3 separate regions of the Homo sapiens genome follow, and all the other regions are linked to region 2. Evidence: promoter capture Hi-C in 16 types of primary human blood cells and fetal thymus (Javierre and others, 2016). All regions are on one chromosome and are shown on one strand. Each heading gives the region's core, a stretch centred on a gene start or on the middle of the fragment in contact. The rest is flanking DNA. Distances are from core to core; before and after follow the strand shown. Region 1 has its middle 87 kb from the start of LINC03083. Region 2 holds the start of NKX2-2 (NK2 homeobox 2). Region 3 has its middle 65 kb from the start of LINC03083.

The links. The method cuts DNA at HindIII sites, captures the fragments that hold promoters and counts their contacts. A CHiCAGO score of 5 or more calls a contact.
Region 1: a contact is called between a fragment that was not itself captured here and the fragment with the promoter of NKX2-2 in region 2, in 6 of 17 cell types (M1 macrophages, total CD8 T cells, naive CD4 T cells and 3 more). The highest score is 8.4, in M1 macrophages.
Region 3: a fragment that was not itself captured here is called in contact with the fragment with the promoter of NKX2-2 in region 2 in 1 of 17 cell types (M1 macrophages); the score reaches 5.5 in M1 macrophages.

What each region holds. Positions count from the first base shown.
Region 1 is chr20:20,881,547-20,885,268 of GRCh38, reverse strand. No RefSeq gene overlaps it. Among named protein-coding and RNA genes, the nearest start is that of LINC03083, 87 kb to the left of the region's middle. The HindIII fragment of the contact is 1,552 bases long and covers 632-2,183 here.
Region 2 is chr20:21,512,054-21,515,371 of GRCh38, reverse strand. NKX2-2 (NK2 homeobox 2) reads left to right here and starts at 1,308. Exons shown (of 2, transcript NM_002509.4): 1 at 1,308-1,961; 2 at 2,887-3,318. The coding sequence starts at 1,703. The HindIII fragment of the contact is 7,883 bases long and covers 1-3,318 here.
Region 3 is chr20:20,904,077-20,907,545 of GRCh38, reverse strand. No RefSeq gene overlaps it. Among named protein-coding and RNA genes, the nearest start is that of LINC03083, 65 kb to the left of the region's middle. The HindIII fragment of the contact is 1,829 bases long and covers 1,158-2,986 here.

The sequences.
Region 1 (3,722 bases), core at 158-2,657, 630 kb after region 2:
GGCTCCTGCTCTCCAGGCGCAGGACTCAGCATGACTTAGGGCACCCCAGGGGCTGGGGGCCAGGACTAGCTAAAGTCGTACCTGCTGGAGCAATGTCTTCTGCTCTGCGAAGGAGAGATGGCTCCGTGCTCAGTGAAGCAGAAATGGTGGAGTGCTTGGTCTCCTGTGCGCTCCTCAGCTCTCCTGTAAGTATACAGCCATGCACAGGAAGCATTCATTTAATGGTCCCTTTGAGCATCTCATTATCAACACAGCTCCAACCATAAGAAGAAGGTGAGCTCATGCAGCAAATGACCTTGGGTTCTGATTGTTCTGGACCAGACTTTGTGAGAGCGGTAAAGAGTTGGGTCCTTCCCTCTTAAGCATTGGATGGTGGTTAATGGAGCTGTCTCCCTGGTCACCAAGGAAGAGTCCCCCAGTTCTGTTCTCTTATCTTCCCAGAAAGCCCCCCGGTTTCCACTTGGATGGCCAAATTTGACAGTACCTAAAACTTAAACACTTCCTTCCCCAAACTTGAACAAAAGAGTCTTGCTCTCAAAGGACATGACGAAGCATCAATAGCAGCATGAACCATGAAATTGCTCTCTTCACCTGTGCCTCTCCACTTTGCTAGGTGGGGTTATAGGAAGCTTCTTCCAGCAGAAATCCCCATTTGCCTTAAACAATTATTTAATAAATAAATATCGAGAGTTTCATCAACCAAGAGTAGCCTTTCCCCTCATGACTTAGCAAAAGCAGCATCACTCTTCATAGAGTAATGGCATTTTTGAAACATTAAGCTAGCTTCCTCTCCTTGCCTGACAACCTCTGAGGAAATAGCTAAACCAGAACAGATAAGGGAAAGAGTAAAGGTTTTTCATTAAATCCTTTTCAAGTTTTATCTCTGGCATAGGAATTTTCATGAAGTAGAAACACAATTTTCAGGTTCAGGGAACCAGAATATAATTTGGGTCAGTCTTTTAAGAATATAGCGTTATCTGGGTGGGTTTATTATTTTATAATGTGATCCTGCTTAATCTCATGCCAGGCTCCTGTTTGTTCTGCTGTAGCCATGCTGGCTTTCTTTCTGTTTCTTAAACACGCTGGTTCTACCCCACGGCCTTTGCATCTGCTGTGCCCTCTGCCTGGTCCACTCATCCCTGGATCTCTGCACACTGCCTTTTCTCCCACTCAGATCTCAGCTCAAATGTCTCTTCATTGATGAGGACTTTTTTTTTTACTATCTCAGCACAAGTGGCCCCCACCTCCACTCTGTTGTCTTTAAGTCATTGCTCACTCCTCAAATTTGTCTTCTTTGATAATTGTCTTCTTTTTCCTTGTCTGTCTCCATGAGGGTCTTGTCCCTTATTGTCCTGGGACAAAAGTGCCTGGCATATAGTAAGCACTCAATAAATCTGTGTGGGTAGAACTCCACTTGGAAGATGAGGAAAAGCCATTTAAAATTCTTATTTGGGGCCTGTTTGGATATTTCTTGCTTCTGTTTCAAGATTATACTTTTTGGTGGCATCAAGCAATTAGCATGCTGGACTCACCCTCATGGACTCTTCACATTAAAAATATGTAGATTGCATACCTGTGTGTCTACATAATCTCAGTATCACCTGCCTTTAGCAACAAAATGTCTGATGTGACCTTTACCCTCATGTTTATTATCCATAAAACTAAATCCACTTCAAACTGCTCCTACACTAAGAACCCATGAAAACATGTGCTATAAGAGCTTTGATGGATCGTTTCAAAAATGCATTCTACTAAGTTTTCTCTCCTCTCCTTCAGGGCTCTTTCTGTACAAAAGTACCATCTCCCATGCTAAAGTAGGCTTGTAGGGAAATAAAGCACTCCAGGCCATAATAGGTTTGGACCAACCATTCCCTCCCATTCATGATGGTTATTTCTTTAAAAGACAATTAAGTTTATTTGTTTCTGTTTACATTTTATTTTAATATTTTTTCTACATTGTTCATTTAATTTTTTTCTGAGTTTGTAAAAATTAACATGGTTCTTTAAGTCTACTCCATTCCTGCCCCACTGTCTCTTCCTCTCCAGCCTAATCCTTTCCATCCCATTCAAACCCCACTATCTCTTCCATCCTGTTCCAACCCATTCCCTAGAGGTAGCTAATCATGTTAGTTTCTGGTTTATCCTCCCTGTATTTCTTTATGCAAAACATTAGCAAATAAGCTTATAATTTTTTAATCTTTCTTACACAAAAGGAAGCATCCTTTAGATACTCTTTTGCACTTTGCTTTCTTCACTGAACATTGGAAATCACTTCATAGCAGTTTACAGTAATCTTTCTCAATATTTCTCACAGCTGCCCAATATTCCGTTGTGTAGATATACCACAGTTTATTCAAATACTCTCCGTGATTGGGTCTCTAGGTAGTTATCAATATTTTGCAATTATAAACCAGGTTGCAATGAATTGCCTTGTGTTTATATATTTTTGTATCATTAAAGGTGTGTCTTTAGAGTAAATTCCTAGAGTCGGTATATCTGGGTCAAAGGCAAGTGCATATGTAGTTTTGTTAGCTGTTTCCAAGTGCTCCCGCTCAAGAGTTGTAGCAGTGAGAGTGCCTATTTCCCGAACAGCCTTATCAATAGAGTGTGTTGTGGAGCTTTTCAATATTTTCCAATCAGATAGATGAGAAATAGTGTCTCAGCCTAATTTTAATTTGCCATTCTCTTAATATGAACAAATTTCAACATCTTTTCATGTGTTTAAAGGCCATTTTTATAGCCTTTTGTTGCAAATTGTCTGTTTGTGTTTTTGTGTGTTTTTCTATTTGATGTTTGCTCTTTTTTCCTTCAATTGTTAAGAAGTCTCTCCATAGCAGAGATGTTAGCCACAGTTAGAGCACGTGTGGAGCCAAAGCGACTCCATCTTAGATGCTAATCTGCCAGGTTGGCTTCCATTAACCCCTGTTCTGAGAAGCCTCTAAGATTTCCCTTTTATCTATTGCTCCTTGTATAGGAGCAGGTCCTTACCGTAAATCCCAAACAACCTTGGTATTACTGTGCTTCGATTATCCTACACATCCCTTCTGAACCACCCCTTCTCTATGGCATAGAAGCCCTGGGTCTGGGGGTGATGGCATGGGATCCACCATCTTATGTCATCGCCACCCAAGACATAGACACAACTTCTGTTCCCAGGTCCTTATTAAGTGTTTCTTTCGAAGAAACTGGATTTGCCAGCCTCTTTCTTGGGCCTTTCAGCTTCCTTGGACTTTGGAGCAGATTTGCATAGACCTGCCCACTGTAGAACAGTGCCCTTCCTCCACAGCAGGTTATAGAGGAGTTCACTGTGTCTTTTCCAAATGCTTGTACAGCTTCCTTTCTTACATTCAGACCTCTAATTATCTTGGTTATATTTATTCTATGTATGGTGTGAGGTATGGCTCTAATTTTATTTTTTTCCAAAACTATTTCATTGTTCCTGTGCCATTGATTAAAAGCCCCATTTTCAAAAGGGCTCTTGGGAGCAAGGAAGGGTAAAGAGAAGGAAAGTAGGAAGGGGCAGATGTCAAACCTTTCCATCCTTCGTCTACCTGTCTCTCCTCCCAGACAAACCCCAGCAGCGAGCATGCCCATGAGGGTGTCTTGACTCTTAGGGGCTCTGCCTACACCACAGAGCAGCCTTTCCCCCTCAGGCCTGAGCTTGTGCTGGAACCTTTTGGCTAAAAGTTGAGTTCATGTGACCAATTGTTCTTGGGGATGGA
Region 2 (3,318 bases), core at 59-2,558:
ACTGGGGAGAAAACGAGGCATCGTCGGGCCACCCAGCGACCCCCCTCCCCCGCAGCTTTCTGGGTCTTCACCCAGGCTGGAGACACAACCCCCACCCCCACCCCCGCAATCCCGCCCCGCCGCCTTCCCGCTGCTCCACCTCTAGCCAGAGGCTGGAGAGGGAGGGGGCCGGAGAGGGAGGGATAATAGAGGGCAGGAAAGAGCAGGGCCGTCTGCCCTTTCCTCCACCCGGGGAAAGAGGCCCGCAGAGCCCAGAGGCAGCAGGGCCAGGGTCCGACCCCAGACGAAGTTGGAGCTCCTCACTCTTACCCCGCCCTCCCCGGGACCGCCCGCAAAGCAGAAAGTGAACTGCGCGTCCTCCTTGGCCGCAGAGAGGTGGAGGCGGGGGGTTGGGGGTGGGAGGTGGGGGGAGGCGGAGTGAAGGAAATAAATGAGTCTTTAGCAAATAAAGGGCGGCTGGAAGGGGGCGGGTCGCTTGGTGGTGGCTCTGGCCGGCCCGGAGCGGAGCTCTCTCCTGGGTTTTGGGCTCTCTCGCGGTTAACTGGAATCAATTACTTGCCTTGTCATTTCTAGCACTCATCCTTAAGCCTCAACCAAAATATTGACCTAGGAGGCTTACAGAAGTTGGGCTCTTGCCATTTGAACCGGATCTTGTTTAGGCAACCACCAACGATGGAAAGGAGAGATTTCCGCAGCTCGGCCTTCGCCCCCTCCCCCTTTTCCAAAGGCGCCACAAATCGCCAATTTTCCGGCTTGCCGGGGGTGGGCGCGCGGGGGCGGGGAGGTAGGAACCGGTGAATGTTAAAGAGGATTTTTTCCCTCCTCCTGGTTTCTGTTTTGTTTTCTCCCCTCCTCCTCCCCACCCCCACCTTTTTTAAGATGCAATTTGTTAAAACGGCCCTTTCAAGTGTGTGGACTCGCGAGCGACGCGGTGGCCCTTTGTATGTAAATACTGGGTTTAAAAAAAAAAAGGCTCGCCCCGTCTTTGCAATTAATTGACACGTTACACCTCTCATCTTGCTCTAGAGGGCCGTTGGCTGGGAGCGCGGAGCTCCCCAAAACCCACAATTTCACATCTGCAAATACTGTCTTCATCCACTTGACTCCCAAGACCCGCCCACACGTGGCCAACCTTTGCGTTTTTAATGTCTCTTCCCCCTTTTTTCCACCCTTCTCCCGCTCCCTCTCTCGCTCCCCCTCCCTCCCTCTTTCTTTCCCTCCCTCCCTCTCTTTCTCCCCCTCTCCCCGCCTCCCCAGGTTCGTGAGTGGAGCCCAGCCTTATATGGACTGATCGCTCGGGCAATGGCCCATTTTTTCCTCGCCACCAGCCGCCACCGCGCGCCGAGCGGCCGCCGGAGCCCGAGCTGACGCCGCCTTGGCACCCCTCCTGGAGTTAGAAACTAAGGCCGGGGCCCGCGGCGCTCGGCGCGCAGGCCGCCCGGCTTCCTGCGTCCATTTCCGCGTGCTTTCAAAGAAGACAGAGAGAGGCACTGGGTTGGGCTTCATTTTTTTCCTCCCCATCCCCAGTTTCTTTCTCTTTTTAAAAATAATAATTATCCCAATAATTAAAGCCAATTCCCCCCTCCCCTCCCCCAGTCCCTCCCCCCAACTCCCCCCTCCCCCGCCCGCCGGGGCAGGGGAGCGCCACGAATTGACCAAGTGAAGCTACAACTTTGCGACATAAATTTTGGGGTCTCGAACCATGTCGCTGACCAACACAAAGACGGGGTTTTCGGTCAAGGACATCTTAGACCTGCCGGACACCAACGATGAGGAGGGCTCTGTGGCCGAAGGTCCGGAGGAAGAGAACGAGGGGCCCGAGCCAGCCAAGAGGGCCGGGCCGCTGGGGCAGGGCGCCCTGGACGCGGTGCAGAGCCTGCCCCTGAAGAACCCCTTCTACGACAGCAGCGACAACCCGTACACGCGCTGGCTGGCCAGCACCGAGGGCCTTCAGTACTCCCGTAAGTAGCAAAACTTGGCTGCCGAGGCCGTGGTCCCCTCCATTCCTGCAGCCGCAGCCCGGGTTGGACGCTGGGAGTGAAAGGGGAAGGGGCCATGTAAGCCCGGACCCCCTCACTCGGATCCGTAGAAAGATTTTTAACACCTGTATAGGATGTCCTCTGCCCTCCTCTTCAAGCCTCCTTAGTTCCGGGAAAGAACTTGGTCTCCAAAATTTTTTTCAATGCGAGAAGTTAAGGAGAAAGAGGGAGAAGGGCTATACCTCCCAGGGGCTGGTATATGATGTCAACCCGGACCGATGGCTCCAGCCGCAGCCCCCGGACTCCGGCCGCTGGGAGGGACTGGCCTGGCGCCCTGGAGGTAGCCAGCGAGCCTCGTCCGGGTACGGGTGGAGGGTGGGGAGGCTTCGGGTGGCCCGGGTATAAATAGCTCACCCTGCCCCCTGCGCGATCATAGAGGACGCTTTGTGCAGTGCAGGGGGTGTCTAGAAGGCCCGAAAGCAGAAACGAAAGCCCCCAAAAACCTGCCTTAAATGGCCGAGCCGATCAATGCTGGGATTGTGGGGTATTTCTTTTAAAAATCTGCCCACGTCTCGCCGGAGAGGAAACCGCTTAAGGGCGCCGGAGCCCTTAACCCGCGATGATCTTCAGTGCCACTTCCCCCCCCAAATTCTCACCCACACTATGTGAGCCCCTTGAAAGGCGAGCCCCTAGCCCCCACTCCTACGGATTTCCCTCTTTACCCTGGGAGGTCCCGACGTCTTCGTCAGGCGTAGAGGAAGGCAGGGGTCATGGCAAAGGCAGCGGGGCTGGGCTGCCAGGCGCGGAGGTCCAGGGTCGCACGGAGGATCCAGGGTGCTCCGAGTCTGGTGCAGGCTGCGCGCGGCCTCCAGACGCCTGACGCGCTTCTCTCTCCCCCTCCCCCCAGTGCACGGTCTGGCTGCCGGGGCGCCCCCTCAGGACTCAAGCTCCAAGTCCCCGGAGCCCTCGGCCGACGAGTCACCGGACAATGACAAGGAGACCCCGGGCGGCGGGGGGGACGCCGGCAAGAAGCGAAAGCGGCGAGTGCTTTTCTCCAAGGCGCAGACCTACGAGCTGGAGCGGCGCTTTCGGCAGCAGCGGTACCTGTCGGCGCCCGAGCGCGAACACCTGGCCAGCCTCATCCGCCTCACGCCCACGCAGGTCAAGATCTGGTTCCAGAACCACCGCTACAAGATGAAGCGCGCCCGGGCCGAGAAAGGTATGGAGGTGACGCCCCTGCCCTCGCCGCGCCGGGTGGCCGTGCCCGTCTTGGTCAGGGACGGCAAACCATGTCACGCGCTCAAAGCCCAGGACCTGGCAGCCGCCACCTTCCAGGCGG
Region 3 (3,469 bases), core at 823-3,322, 610 kb after region 2:
GAGTACGGATTAAATTATTTCAAAGGTTCTTTAAAGACTTTGAACTCCATGTCCTTTAAACATGATTACATGTTATATTTCTTTTAGAGAAAGGATTCTGAACCTAGGATTCATGGATGGCTTTCAAATGGTGAGTGAAGCCTCAGAAATTGTATGCAAATTTGTGGGTGTATTTTTTTTTCTGGGAAGAGGGTTCATAGCTTTCATTAGATTTCCAAGGAGTCCATAAGCTTCCACCAAAGTTAGTAACCACTCTTTACAGTTTGTTGTTTATAGATTTCCCAAGGGCTGTGGAAAGAGTATCATCATATACTCTAAAACATTAATCTTTTGAGATTCATAATGATTTGGTTAAAACCACTTAATATCTATTAAAAATGATAGAAGGAAGAATGTGCTAATGGTAGTTTTACAGCAGAGGTAAGCAGTCCTCCTTGCCCAGTCTTTGACAGCCTTTTCTCTTGTAAACATGGTCTTTTATACGTTCATGCTTTTTTGACCCTGCATTTGGGTTTAATATAAACTGCGACCTTTTTTTAGACAAATGTTAGATAAACTAGCCTGGCTTTGCTAAAGAAGAAAATATGTTTTGTCTGTGATTAATAAAGCACATGAAATCCACTTACTTGAGTTTCCCTTCACGTTCCTCTCTGCCCCTCTCTTTTCATACACAAAGAGACAGACGGGCAGACAGACAGATAGATACACAACCACACACAATTGTATCAGAAAGACACCCCAAATGCTTTTCTGAATGCAGGATTTCAAAATCTGGTTTTGACAAAAATAGCCCCAGCTGGTTATATTTAAGTCCCACTTGTTATGCACACAGTAGGTCAGTAATTTATGAGCCAAACAGCTGCTCCAATTTTCAGAACCATTAGGTCTCCCGGGTAAGCCACATGGCAGGGGGGTGGCGGGATGCACAGAAGGCTCTTCTTGAGAAATGAAACATTTCCTCGTGTGCATCTGGGTCAGCCATGTATAGTTCCTCTCATAAAAGATATTTTATGAACCTGAATAATAAGAATTTATATAAAGATGCATACACAAACTCACACAATGCATATGGAGGGAATAAAGAACAAGAAAGTAATGGTGAATTAAGTGCATTGAAGGGTTCAGCCAGCCTTTTAATAAACCACAAGATGGAAGCTTGAGTATTTGTGATGTCACCTTGACATTGGAGGGTATTTATATCTTTAAACAAGGCTCCTGTGGGTTGGACATAAGGGACAAAGGCTCTGAGGGGATTGAACCCCAAACTCTGAGGTAGGCCAACTGCACACAGCATTCATTATTTCATTCGCCTGCTCTTTAGTTTGTTCATTCATTTGTTTAGCCTGTGTTAATTGAATGCCAGGCCCTCCACTTGGTGCCAGGCTCAAATGCTGATGGTCCCTATTATGGAGATTACAATTTGGAAGGGAAGACAGCAATAAACTAGTAAACAAACACGTAAATATCTAACTACTTATGTAAATGTGAAAAGTACAAAGAAGAAAAAGCATTGCATTCTCTCTGTGATGTACAGAAAAATGGGATAGGAAGGTGGTCAGAGAAGACATCTGTGATGGTTAATGTGTCTACCTGACTGGCCTAAGGGATGCCCAGGTAGCTGGTAAAGCACTATTTCCAGCTGTGCCTGGGAGGGAGTTTCTGGAAGAGATCGGAGTCTGAATCGGTGAACTGAGTAAAGAACACGGCCCTCCCCGGTGTGGGTGGGCACCATACAATCCTTGGGGACCTAAATAGAACAAAATGCTGGAGGAAAGGAAAATGCACTCTCTCTTTTTGAGCTGTCCCATCCATTTTCTCCTGCCTTTAGACATCAGAGCTCAGCCTTTTTTTTCAGGCTTTTGGATTCAGATTGGGATGTACACCATTAGCACCCCTACCCCTGATTCTCAGGCCTTCTAACTTGAACTGAATTATACCACTGGCTTTCTAGTTCTTCCCCTTGCAGACAGAAGATTGTAGGACTTCTTGGTCTCCATAACCATAACAATGTAAGCCAATTTCTATGAAAACCTCCTCTTGCATATCTATCTATCTATTATCTACCTATTTGTTATCTATTATCTATCTATCATTATCTATTATCTATCATCTATCTATCATCTATCTATCATCTATCTATCTATCTATCTATCATCTATCTATCATCTATCTATCTATGTATCTATCATCTATCTATCATCTCCTGCTGATTCTATTTCTCTGGAGAACCCTGACTAATACCACATCTTTCAATAGGACATACTAATACTAAAATAATTATTTCTTGTTTATCTAAAATTCAAAATGAACTTGACATATCACATTTTATCTGATAATCTTACACCAGTTTGGGTTGGCCATGCAACTTGTTTTGGTCAGTGGGACAGTAGCAAATGTGGAGTACAGCAGAGGCTCAAAAGAACTTGCACATGGAGGCTTACGTTTGTGTTGTTCTTGGAACCTGGTGACTATTAACAGGTGAAGAAGCTGAGACCAGCCTGGTCCAGTCACACTCATTATCCCAACAGTCAGCTTGTCCACACTAGACATGTGAGTAAAGCCGTGCTAGATCATGTAGATACCAGCGGACTTGATGGCTGACTGCAGATGCCAAACCTTTGACCCACAGAATTGTGAGTAGAATAGAGGGTTATTTTCAGAAGAAGAAGGGGTAGAAATTTTTTTTTTTAATTTAAAAAAGAATAGATACTATCATCCACCACTAAGTTTTGACGTGGTTTGTTATGCAGAAGAAACTAACTGATAAACCTCAGACCCTACTATTTCAGTGTGCTCTGGCCAACTTCTAACTACAAATACATGGACAGAAGTACTAGGAATAAACACTCCCTCACAAGAAACAGCTTTCAGCCAATGACTCTTATTTATTTGGTGTATCAATACCCCAGCTCTCTCCCTAATAGAGCTGGGTAATTCTGAGACATGTGTTTTGCACTGTTTCCCAATTTTCCCATGAGATTAAGCTTGAGTTGTCCAAAGTGACAGCTGGCTTAATAATGCACCATGTATTGACTGTCGTTACTTCCAGGTTTCAGTTCCCCACTTCTCTCCAGTGTTCCCTGCACTTCTCTTGCACCCATATCCTTGTCTTGAGGTCTGTGAATTCACACTAAGATGGAGCTTCTGATAATTGCAGAGCAATGCAGGTTGCTGGTGGCCCTGGAGGCACCTCCAGCTCCAGCATGGGCCCATTATTCCCTCTGGACAAACTCCCTGAGGAAGGCCTGACCTGAAACGATTTAACTTCTATGTGCACACTCTGAATTAGTTTCTGGAACACCTGAAAATGCTCCAAAGGTCCCTCTGGAGACCTCCATGAAATGTTGGTTAGTTAATGGAGTGGACCTAATATTAGCCAGTCACTGATGAAGCCAGTTGGGTAGCTGCCTTCATTGACATGGGGCCTTATCTGTTGGTCCTCACTGAGGCTTTGTACCAGACAGAGCTC